2 separate regions of the Homo sapiens genome follow, and region 2 is linked to region 1. The links are contacts of gene promoters, found by promoter capture Hi-C in blood cells and fetal thymus (Javierre and others, 2016). All regions are on one chromosome and are shown on one strand. Each heading gives the region's core, a stretch centred on a gene start or on the middle of the fragment in contact. The rest is flanking DNA. Distances are from core to core; before and after follow the strand shown.

What was found. The method cuts DNA at HindIII sites, captures the fragments that hold promoters and counts their contacts. A CHiCAGO score of 5 or more calls a contact.
Region 2: a fragment that was not itself captured here is called in contact with the fragment with the promoter of TLE4 in region 1 in 1 of 17 cell types (total B cells); the score reaches 6.9 in total B cells.

What each region holds. Positions count from the first base shown.
Region 1 is chr9:79,568,831-79,574,716 of GRCh38, reverse strand. It overlaps TLE4 (TLE family member 4, transcriptional corepressor), which reads right to left and starts at 2,752. Exons shown (of 20, transcript NM_007005.6): 1 at 1,882-2,752; 2 at 931-1,028. The coding sequence starts at 1,926. RefSeq lists silencers at 1,141-1,380, 1,401-1,870, 1,981-2,140, 2,201-2,320, 4,231-4,280 and enhancers at 1,211-1,823, 2,551-2,640, 2,681-2,730, 2,741-2,870. The HindIII fragment of the contact is 12,449 bases long and covers 1-5,886 here.
Region 2 is chr9:81,691,920-81,697,805 of GRCh38, reverse strand. The region is part of intron 1 of TLE1-DT (TLE1 divergent transcript); the gene reads right to left. Among named protein-coding and RNA genes, the nearest start is that of TLE1-DT, 5.2 kb to the right of the region's middle. The HindIII fragment of the contact is 239 bases long and covers 3,044-3,282 here.

The sequences.
Region 1 (5,886 bases), core at 1,503-4,002:
GAACCAGTCTGGACTTGCCCCTTCAATAAGGATCATATATGTGGTTTTTTGTTTTTAGGATTTTTTTTTTAATTAAGTTTTAAGGAAACAAATCCTCTAATCAGTTTAATTCAGGAACTTCCTCCAGAATTGAATATTCACTTAATAAAACAAACACGAAAATAAACTTCAATAATGACTGCACATACAAGCACAAATAAGTCCTCCAAAACGTCACAAGGGAATTTCTTTAATGTTCTACAAAGAGATTAATGAAAATATGAATCAAGCATGTCTTATGAATGATATCTTGTTTTTTTCCCTCCAAAACACACAGACAAGTTGAATACCACCACCCAGGGGCAAAGTGTCAATCGGGTTCAGTGGTTTGTTTTGGTTCTTGCATTTATGAAATAAGAATTAGGCATCATTAAAAAGCCAGCTAAAGAAAAATGTCTCAAAGGCACCCTAAGTCTAAAAATCGTCTATAAGATGAAAACATTTTTTTTTTTTTTAGCATAAAAGTAATGAAATCGCTCACTCCGACTTCCCTGGGCTCTCAGCTCTTCAGTGGAATGGCAGAAAAAAGTGAGAAGGAATCAAGTCCGGAGTAATAAAGAACCAAGGATGTCAAAAGGCCCCAGAATCTTCCCAACCTTTCATTCTCCCGGCCCCAATAAATCAATATCGAAAGTTTGGCCTCAGCGTTTTCCAAGTCTCCCCAGTTTCGATTGTTCTGCCTTCTTTTTATTTACGGTAGAAGAAATGTTTAATTTATTTACACCTGCCTAAGGAAGGAGGCCTTGATTTGCCCTTTCTGCCCACCGAGAAAAAAAAATAATACCTTTGTGACGCCCCCACAAAAAAGGAGGAGGGTAAGTGTTTGTGTGTATTTGTCGGGGAGACAAGAGCTAAGCAAACAGAAGGATCAGCTAAAGTCAATATCGTTACCTGTGGTATTGAGCCTGTAAAAACTGAAACTCTTCCTTAATCCGATCACAGGATTCGGAAATTGTAAATTTAAAGGGTTGAGCAGGCTGATGCGGTGCCTGAAGAACAACAATAAAATATTTAATTAGCCCACATCACAGGCGAAGCAGGGAGACGGAGAAAACCTACTATGCGGCGTTAGCGGGGGGTGAGGGTCATCGCGCACGCAAGCAAAGAGAGATTAAAACTCTCCTCCCGCAACCCTCCTCGCGCCCAACAGCCCAGGCAGAGGCTGGTTTCGAGGTGGTCCTGGGGCCCCGCATACTCCCGCCCGCAGGCCCCCGCGCCCCGGACCCCGAGGGTTCGAGTCCCGTCTCCCCTCCCCGGCCAAAGACAGGCACCCAGGGACCCGCGCGCCGCGCCCACTCCCTCCTCACCCGGAATCGAAACTGGCCCGTCGGGGGGACCCGCGCCATGGCGTCGGGCTGCGGTCAGGCCGGGGGAGGAGGGAGGCGGCCGCCACCCTCTCGGCTCGTTCGTTCGCCCGCTCGCCCCGGCGGCCCGCGGCGCGAGGGGCCGGCGCCCCGCACTTCCAAACCGCAGCCAGCCCAGCAGCGCCGCTGCCGAGGGCGCCCTCCCCGCCCGGGCGCGGAGTCGCGCCTCCTTCATCGCTCGCCACCCCCCCTCGAGGAGTCGCGGCGCGGGGACCGCAAACGGCTCGGCGCGGCTTCCAGGGGCTTCAAAGACAACAATAAGAAAATGGCTACAACTCAATTGCCTCTCCGCACCCCCTCCGAGGGCCACCGCGCCGGGGGGTGGGGGTGATGGCGGGCGGGCTGCTCCCGGCGCGGGGCGCCGATTTCGGGCGGCTCTCCACGCCCCTCCGGCCAAAAGACACAACTCGGTGCGCAGGGGGCGACGCGGGGAATCCCCCAGCACCCGGCGAGCCCGCGCCCCGCCGCCCGCACTCACTGGGTGTCTGGTCTGCGGGTACATCTTGCTCAGGTCGCGAATCATCCAAGCCGATTTAGTTGGCTGCGCTCGGCAGAGGCGCGCGGCTCATTGGCTTTAATGACCCCGAAGAGGAGGCGGCCGCGGCAGCGGAGGCGGCCGGCTCGGTCTGAGGGGCGGCTCGGGCGGTCCCGGCCCCCGCCGGGTCTCGCGTGACACGGGCGGCAGGAACGCGCGGCGGCGGCTGGGTGCCGGCTGCCGGGCCGCTCCGCATTCCCCGCGGGCGTCACTGGCCCGCCGCGGGCATTGTCCGGCGCGCGTCTCCCAAGGCAACGCTCCGACGTTCGCTCCGCCGAGGCGCACCCGCCGAGCCCGGCGCCGCGGCCGCCGCTCACCCGGCCGGGAAAGTGCGGGCTCCGCGCCCCACCGCCCGCCGGCAGCTCCTCTCGCTCGCTCTGCGTCCCACTCCAAACTTTTTTTATTTGTCTTTTAATTGGTTGTTATTCCTCCGAATGAATGATCTTTCTTCTTCCCTAAAAGCAAACACAAACTCCTTTGGTTCGGAAGAGGTCTCGGCGGTGCTTTTTGGTTTCTCTGGAGATTTTTTTCACTTCACAGCAACGATCTTTTAAAAGGCACCTTTTAGCTTCTTTTACCACATCTCATTTCCTTATTTCTCTTCCTTCCTGTTTTCTTGTCTTTTTTTTAACCCCAAATTGAAGGGGATTATAAAAATAAAAGAGTGAAACGCTTGCGGCTTTTTTTTTTAATTCTCTCTCCTTTCAAACTCTGCGAACACCACCTCAAAATAATATACAAGTGTGTGAGAAAGGGGGAAGAAAGCAGCCAACAACCCAAACACCCGCTCAGCACAGCTCTAACAACACGCTCTGTGTAGGTGACTTCTTTGACCAAATTTAGCAGCAGCTAATCATTAACATTCTGATACATATTCACAATCTTCCGCGGGGCGGCCGCGCAGCATCCCGGGAGATGTAGTCCGCCCCGGGCGACCCTGCCTGAGAATACGGCCAGATTGACTACAATCACCGGCCCGCCATGCGAGCGCTCTGGCGAGCTCTCCAAGCGCCCCGCCCACCCCCGTTGCGGTAGGCGTCTCCACCAACCAATCAGAGGTGGCTGAACATTAATCGCCGTTCTGTGTTAGTGCCCATCATTTCACTGCTGACAAATGGCAAGCCAGCGGGGAGGAGCCAACCCAGCTGAAACCCACGTGGGGGCCGGGCGTCGCCTGTAGCTCCGACCAATTAACGAAGAGGAATGAGGTTGGCGGAGGCGGGGCGGAGATGGCCCGCCCAAGGCGGAGCTTCGCCTTGGCTGACGTTCCTTAGCGCGAGCGTTCGAACCGGGAAAACATTTGTTCAGCTGTCAATCAAAGTAACGTGGGGCTGGGAGAATCGGCGGCTGCTGCTGTTGCTGCTGCCCTGGCTGCATCTTCAGAATTAGGTGTTGGTGGTGGTGGTGGTGGTGGCGGCAAAATAAAGAGGGTGGAGGGAGCGGTGAGCCTGGGGGCTGGTCAAAAGATCTTCTTCCGAGTCTCGTCCTCCCGCCCACCCGTCTCCCAACCCAGACACCTTCGGCCCCTCGCTCCGCAGCCGCGCCAGGAATGCGGACTAATTAGGGTCCAATGTCTCCTTAAAGAGACAAGCTCGGCCTTGTGTAACGCGCCGAAACCCCTGTTGAGACAAGAGGGGGAGGATCACGCTGATCTTACTTCGTTCGGTTCACATCAATTTTACGCGCCGCTGGAGCCGGCATAATTTTCCGTGTGAACGCGACTCGGTCCCCGTTCTTGTTTAGAGCCAGAAATGGAGTCGCGAGATGCTGGCTGGGGCCGGGGCCGCGGGGTGGGCGGGGAGCTCGTCCCTCCAAGCCCCGCGGGGGCTGTGATTGCCATTTAGTTCCGAAACAGGCCTCCCTCCCTCCACCCCCGGAGGCACTCGGAGAGAAAGCGCATCCCGACGCTCCATCGGGGGTCGCGGGGGGCAGTAACCGTGGGGGCTCCGGGTGGGGCTGAAGATCCGGGAATCAGAGACGCTGGACCTCCAAAGAAACTTTGCCGACTGGGCCACGTGAACCCCGAACACGGTCGGTACTGAACAGAGCAGGCCGACGGGGCACGGGTAGAAAACGCCCCTGCGCGCCCTGGGACGTTCCCTCCCCCAGATCAGTACCAAGACTGCGCCTCTTTTTCCCGCTCTTTGGAGAAGCAAGTCAAGTTTATCCCCGTTAAAAACAGAGCAGGGTGCCACGCGGGCCCGAGAGATGGCGGAAAGGTGGGGGTGGCCCCAGGGGCAGATGCTGGAGGAGGAGAGAAAGGGGCAGCCATGGCTGAGGAGGGGCACCCCTAGGGAGGGGCCTGGGAAATGGGGGCGGCCTCCGTCAGTGCGCCTTTCCATCCTTAGTCCGTGTCCAGCTGGAGGCAGCGCCCCAGTTCAAGGGGAGGCTGCTGAGGCTCGCAGTCTTTTCTAGCGAGCGGCTAATCTTGGGGACAGGGAAAAAATTCGGAAAAAGTCAAGAAGAGTGTTGGCTAATGTAACAGGCTGGGTTTTAGACGTTTATTTCTATGCGTGCTTGCCTACTGTAACTTGACCTGTTGGTTGAGATGGTGCCGCCGGTTCGGCGTTAGTGGAAAACTATTCTTCTTAATGATATCCCTTTCCTCAGTGGATGACTCGGTGACTTAATGTCCAACCTAGCACGTTCTGTGAACCTCCTTCCGTTCTGGCCACTGTAGTGAGCTGGTGCAAAGGAAGGCTATGGTGGTCTTCACCTGCCTCTAATTTCATACTAAAAACCCAGAGCCAAAGTTCACAGAATGTTTCAATTCGGCAAATATTTTCGCCTCCATCCCCAAAATAAGAGGACAGAGAAGTCCTTTTGACAGTTTTCTGAACCTCTGCTGTTCCATACCTAGCCACATGTGACTGTTAAGCACTTGAAATGTGTCCAATTCAAAATGAGATGTGCTGTAAGTACACATATATGTGGCATTTTGAAAAAATTAATGTGAAAAAACTGCAGCTCAATAATTTATAATTATGTCAAAATTGTGATATTTTGAATAACTCAATTAAAAATATTAGTAAAATTAATTTTGTCTGTTTCTATTTATTTATTGTATTGATGGGGGTCTTCCTGTGTTGCCTAGGCTGGCCTCAAACTCTGAAGCTCAAGCTATCCTCCTGCCTGAGCCTCCAGTGTTGTTGGGACTGCAGGCACACACTTTTTTTTTTTTTTTTTTTTTTTTTTGAGACAGAGTTTCGCTCTTGTTGCCCAGGCTGGAGTGCAATGGCACGATCTCGGCTCACCGCAACCTCCGCCTCCTGGGTTCAAGCGATTCTCCTTCCTCAGCCTCCCGAGTAGCTAGGATTACAGGCATGCGCCACCACACCCAGCTAATTTTTTGTATTTTTAGTAGAGACGGGGTTTCTCCATGTTGGTCAGGCTGGTCTTGAACTCCTGACCTCAGGTGATCCGTCCGCCTCGGCCTCCCAAAGTGCTTGGATTACAGGCGTGAGCCACCGTGCCCAGCCTCTTTTTACTTTTTTAACTTTGTTCCTAGAAGATTTTAAATTATGAGGCTTACATATTTCCATTAGACAGCCCTGCCCTGAAACCTTCCCAAGAATCAAAAGTGAGAAGACTTTAGTGATACAATTTGCACACGAGGACAGCGAAGTTTCTAAGAACACCAGCAACAACCATGTTTTATTCTAAGGTTGGTTAGTTGCTTGCTCCCACTAGAGCTTTTCAATGGTTTGTGAAATCACCCACAGTGCCTCTGTAGGAAGTTCCATGTTCTCTATTTTAGCCAGAATGTTAGCAAGTTCCATGAGAACAGGGACCTGGTTGTGTTCACAGTTGCACTCCAAACTCCCCAAATTATGTCTGCCATCACTGTCTGGTAGTTGGTGCTCAGTAAATATTTGTTGATGGCATTAATGAATGAATACCTCATTGCATCCTTATAGGAAGTTTCCACATCATTTGGGTCATATTTAT
Region 2 (5,886 bases), core at 1,914-4,413, 2.1 Mb before region 1:
TTGCACTCCAGCCTGGGCAACAAGAGTGAAACTCAGTCTCAAAAAAAAAAAAGAGAAAGAAATAAAGAAAAAAAGAAAGGAATAAAGGAATTAACGTTTATTTGCTGTTGCCTTATTCTTAACATAAAACAGTTTTCTTCTTTATTTTATAATAGATTTTCTGGTGATTCTGAGATTTATGGATCATAAAACAATGCTTTAGAGGATTATTAATGTAATACCCTAATGTATTTAAAGATTTACATTTTATATTAATTGGTAACTAATGGACATTTGGGACTCCTGAAGAAAACCAAACAAAAATAAAATATCATAAATAATAAAATAAAACTACTAAAAGATCCAGAGCAAAAACACTGGGTAATACTTCGGTTATTAGTATGACAGCTTTCCCATGATCAGGGGAAAAAATCATTTTTTCATATATATATGTATATACATATACATATATATACACATATATACATATATGTGTATATATGTGTGTGTGTGTATATATATGTGTGTGTATATATATGTGTGTGTGTGTGTGTGTATATATATATATATATATATATATTTTTTTTTTTTTTTTTTTTTTTTTTTTCCGAGACGGAGTCTTGCTCTGGCTCTGTCACCCAGGCTGGAGTGCAGTAGCAAGATCTCAGCTCACTGCAACTTCTGCCTCCTGGGTTCAAGCAATTCTCCTGCCTCAGCCTCCCGAGTAGCTGGGATTATAGGCACCCGCCACCACACCCGGCTAATTTTTTGTACTTTTAGTAGTGATGGGGTTTCACCATGTTGGCCAGGCTGGTCTCGAACTCCTGACTTCGTGATCCACCAGCCTCGGCCTCCCAAGTGCTGGGATTACAGGCGTGAGCCACTGCGGCTGGCCTCATACTTTTTCTTTTTTCTTTTTTTACTAGAAACATTACAAGTAAATCTTTTAACTATGAAGTGAATTCCATTATAATGCACAAAAAAAAGAGATGTAGACAATGAACCTAGAATTGTTTTCCCAGACTTTTCATCATGAAAAATTTTCAAACATAGAAATATTGAAAGAATAGTAAAATGAATAGCTATAGACATTATCCTGAAATTCTGTAATGGTTAACACATTGCCAAATTTGCTTTCTTTTTCTCTCTCTACATACACTTTTTATTTGCAGTTGCAGGTGTTATTTGAAGTTGTATGCTTCACCATCTATCTTCTCAGAATAACATCTTCCAAAATAACCACAATATTCTAACATCAAAAAAAGGAGAAGCATAATTCTATACTATCTATAAATATCCAGTCCAAATTAAAGTTGCCCAAGACATCTTGCATGTTTTTTTTTTAAATCCAGGGGCCAATAAAGATTTACACATTGCTTTTTCATTATATATCTTTGTTTTTAAGGAATAGTCCTTCCCCACTTCTCTCCTGTCTCTCTCGACATTAACTTTTTAAATAGCTCAGGCTAGCTGTCCTGTAGAATGTCCCAACATTCTGTATTTATTCCATTTAACTTGCTCAACTAGACTTAAAGTTTGTATTCTGGAAACGTGAAGGTACCTGGAACATACACTTGCACTCTAGTCCCCTTCCCATCCCGAGAGTTCGCCTGCCTTCAGCTCTGAAGAACATCTGAAGATCATCAATTAGTTGAACTCAAGCTTTAACCCTTCAATGATATGGCTGGCTTCAGGAAGAAAAGTTATTTAAATGATGCTGCCAAAGTGAAAGCTTTTAAAGGAAAAGGAAAGATGTCTCAGTTTAAAGTTGATTTCCTAGCAAGTCCTTGGCCTGCAGCAAAGGTGGCTCAAGCAGAGAACATTAAGGGGCCCAGGTCTGCTCTTGTTATGTGAATATGTAGGAAGGAGCATCAAAGGTGCTTCCTTTACTTTTTTCTTTTTTCTACCAAATGCTCTTCAGCTTCAGTCGAGCTAAATGCTAAACTGAATGAATTTTTTTAAAAAGTGTATAATCCCAACTTTCCTCAGACTTTAGAACGGGTTAAAAAAATAAAAAGAAGGCCGGGCGCGGTGGCTCACGCCTGTAATCCCAGCACTTTGGGAGGCCGAGGCGGGTGGATCACAAGGTCAGGAGATTGAGACCATCCTGGCTAACACGGTGAAACCCCGCCTTGACTAAAAATTCAAAAAATTAGCCGGGTGTGGTGGCGGGCGCCTGTAATTCCAGCTACCCCGGAGGCTGAGGCAGGAGAATGGCGTGAACGCGGGAGGCGGAGGTTGCAGTGAGCTGAGATCGCGCCACTGCACTCCAGCCTGGGCGACAGAGCGAGACTCCGTCTCAAAGAGGGGCAGGACAAACTTCACTGAGATCTTTTATTATGGTCTGAACTCCAGGCAGTGTTTCATCGAGCCCCAAAATACTGTTCTTGCTTTTCCGGGGCATCTCGCTGGTAGACAGGGAAAGCTCTGGCAGAAAGGCCCTCTGCTTGAACTACTTCAAAGAAACTAATCATGAATATATCCTATTGGTGTGAAAATCCCAAATTAATCAGGTAACATTAATACATAGGAGTGTGCCGTACATATGCATTAGTTGTAAACAGACTTGGTCGGGCGTGGTGGCTCACACCTGTAATCCTAGCACTTTGGGAGGCCGAGGCAGGCAGATCACGAGGTCAGGAGTTCGAGAACAGCCTGGCCAACACGGTGAAACCCTGTCTCTACTAAAAATACAAAAATTAGCTGGATGTGGTGGTGGGCGCCTGTAATCCCAGCTACTCGGGAGGCTGAGGTAGGAGAATTGCTTGAACCTGGGAGGCGGAGGTTGCAGTGAGCTGAGATCGTGCCACTGCACTCCAGCCTGGGTGACAGAGCAAGACTCTGTCTTGGGGGGAGGGGAAAAAAAGATGTAAACAGACTTAGTAAGGGGCATTAACAGGCAGAAGAACGTCGTACAATGGGATTTATATCTGCACTGCTATGATTGCTTATAAACACATGCTATTTTAGACTGATATCTTTCTTGAAATATAGACTTAAGTAAACAAAAGTTCGGCCGCAGCTGAGGTGGTGTTCTTCTGCAAGCCTCAGACACAGTCAAGCTTTTTTACAAACGTGATTGGTGGGCTAAGAAGTTTATCCGCCTGGTTCCTCAAATTCCCAAACAGTTTATTTGAATACTGAGTGAATAGCTAATCTGGTACAAGTTCTGGGGCTTTAACAAGGTAAACGAATGGGTGGGCTGTGAAAGTAAACACTGCATTTCCTCCCAGGCTCACCCTAGCTTCCAAAATTCCTCTCCCTCACTCCTTTCACTCTCCCCAGCCTTCTAGTTCCCAAGCTTGGTCTCTCGTATCCTGTAAAAGTACTGAAATTGCAAAGGAGACATTTTTAATTATAAGTACTACAGTAACGAATTCAAGTACACTCGTTTATCATAAAGGGCTTTCCCATCTGTCTCTAAAGTATACTTAAAAATGCTGTGTATTTGATAACATTAGCACCAAGCATCTTCCACATGTTAATATCCAGTGTTTTAGATGTTCGCTCCCCCCACCTCAAAAGACCGCACAGTGCTGGTTCCAGAAAGAGAACATTTATCTCTCCATGTTTGGGAGTGCCTGTGTGGTCTCTTCCTACTTTATTTGCACTCCAATCCTTGGGGATCTCATCGCAATCCCCCTAGGCAAAGGGAGATTAGGGAATAGGGCTTTCTGCTTCTCCCCACTCTGACAGAGAAGGGAAAACAACTTCCCCAAGTCCCTCAAGTTCTTCTGGCCACAGTACAAATTGTTCTTGAGCATGGAGGGCTTCCAAAAGCCCTAATTAGCAACTCACAGCAAACATTTCTTTGCATTAGCTAATGATCCGGCTGCACTTGTAAGCAAACAGAACCAACATATCTAATCAATGCTGAAAAACCAACCAAATGCCTATTAAACATCTGGATGTAATTTTCTAGTTAGAACAAAATGAAAACATATGCAGGTTCCTTTGATCTTCGTCTTAACAAAGAAATTGTTGATAAAAAAGCATACTGGTCAGTCAATGTGTCATTTTCATAAAGTCTGCTCATTTCTCTTCAAATGCTCCCAGTTTAATTTAGTTGGTTTCCTGCAATCTCTAATTTTACCATATTGTGTGAAACCGCAAGAGATTCTTTGGAAGTGATTTTATTTGAGGTTTTACTGCTGCATGGATCTGCTACTGATTTTTTTTCCCTTCTCTGCGTTCTTCCTTTCACCTCCACGTCCATCTTGCCCTTTTCTTTGGTAAAGGAGTGGGGGAGAAAAAGATTACCAAGAAATGCTGGGAAAAATTCTTCTGGACCCTACATTCTTAGGTTTAAGAAAACTATCAATTAAAAAAAAAAAAAGGTGGGGCGGGGTGGCTCACGCTTGTAATCCCGGCACTTTGGGAGGCCAAGGCGGTCGGATCACCTGATGTTAGAAGTTCGAGACCAGCCTGGCCAACATGGTGAAACCCTGTCTCCGCTAAAAATACAAAAATTAGCCGGGCGTGGTGGTACACGCCTGTTATCCCAGCTGCTCAGGAGACTGAGGCACATGAATCGCTTGAACCTCGGAGGCGGAGGTTGCAACGAGCTGAGATCGCACCACTGCACTCCAGCTTGGGTGACAGAGCGAGATGCTGACTCAAAAAAAAAAAAAAAGTCAAATGAGGAAATGTATGAGCAATAATTCTCAGCTAAAAGGAAGAGAACACAACAAAAGTGGTCTGTTAAAAACTATAATTATTGGCCAGGTGTGGTGGTGCATGCCTGTAATCCCAGCACTTTGGGAGGCTGAGGAGGGCGGATCACGAGGTCAGGAGTTTGAGACCAGCCTGGCCAACAAGGCGAAACCCCGTCTATACTAAAAATATAAAAATTAGCCGGGTGTGGTGGCACACGCCTGTAGTCCCAGCTACTGGGGAGGCTGAGGCAGGAGAATCTCGAACCCAAGAGGCAGAGGTTGCAGTGAGCTGAGATGGCACCACTGCACTTCAGCCTGGGAGACAGAGTGAGACTCCGTCTCCAAAAAAAATTAAAAAATTACAATTATTATTTCAAATAAAAAAGTAATAGATTTAAAAGATGTCTAGTTGCTACGATCAGCATCTATAACTTTTCCTATTTTGTTTAGTATCTGTACTAGATAACATCTAGCTTTTGTAATTACTTAGGCTATTGCTGAGTTGAAAATTTGATAATCAGCAACAAATGAATGGGAATATACCCACATATGCATCAAAAGAAAATGAACAAGCTGACAATCTTTCTGTTTCTCTGCAGAGCATAAAAAGGGTACTGTGTTTTTCAGAGAAAATTTCCAGTGGGAGCATCATACATTTCACATAAAAACATCATTGACATATGAATGTTAAAGGTAAAGAAGATTATGGTTAACAGGCTTTAAATGGAAGACCAAAATTATAGATTTCATGAGGAGGACTATTTTCTTTTAAACAGGCTGTAGGCAATCTGCACATATATTATTTATTTAAAACATAAGATTAAAGCTACTTGACTGTTTAAACGCCGTCATTTGTAATGCAGTTTGATGAGAGTTTTGTAGTATAATTATTACAGCATGACAATCGTGGAGAAAATATGACCTTGAAAAGGGCAGAGCCTTCTCCCACTCTGACAGACGATGCTCTAAATGGGAAAAAAAGGCTTCAAAAACCAAAACCAACCATTTTTATGCACACAATTAAAGGCCTTCCAATTTTAAATTCATAATGCTCTGTAGATACTACAGATACTTCATTATAAGGAAATCAGAAGGCCTGGTGTTTCAAACTCTATTGGCAAGGAAAGACTAGTTAAAAGAGAATTTCTAGTGTTTACTCATGGCAAACTGGGAAATATGGTGAGCAGACACATTGTCTGTGAGTAGTTATGTTAGAGAACATTTAAAGATGCCTTAGTACTGATTTTGAGGG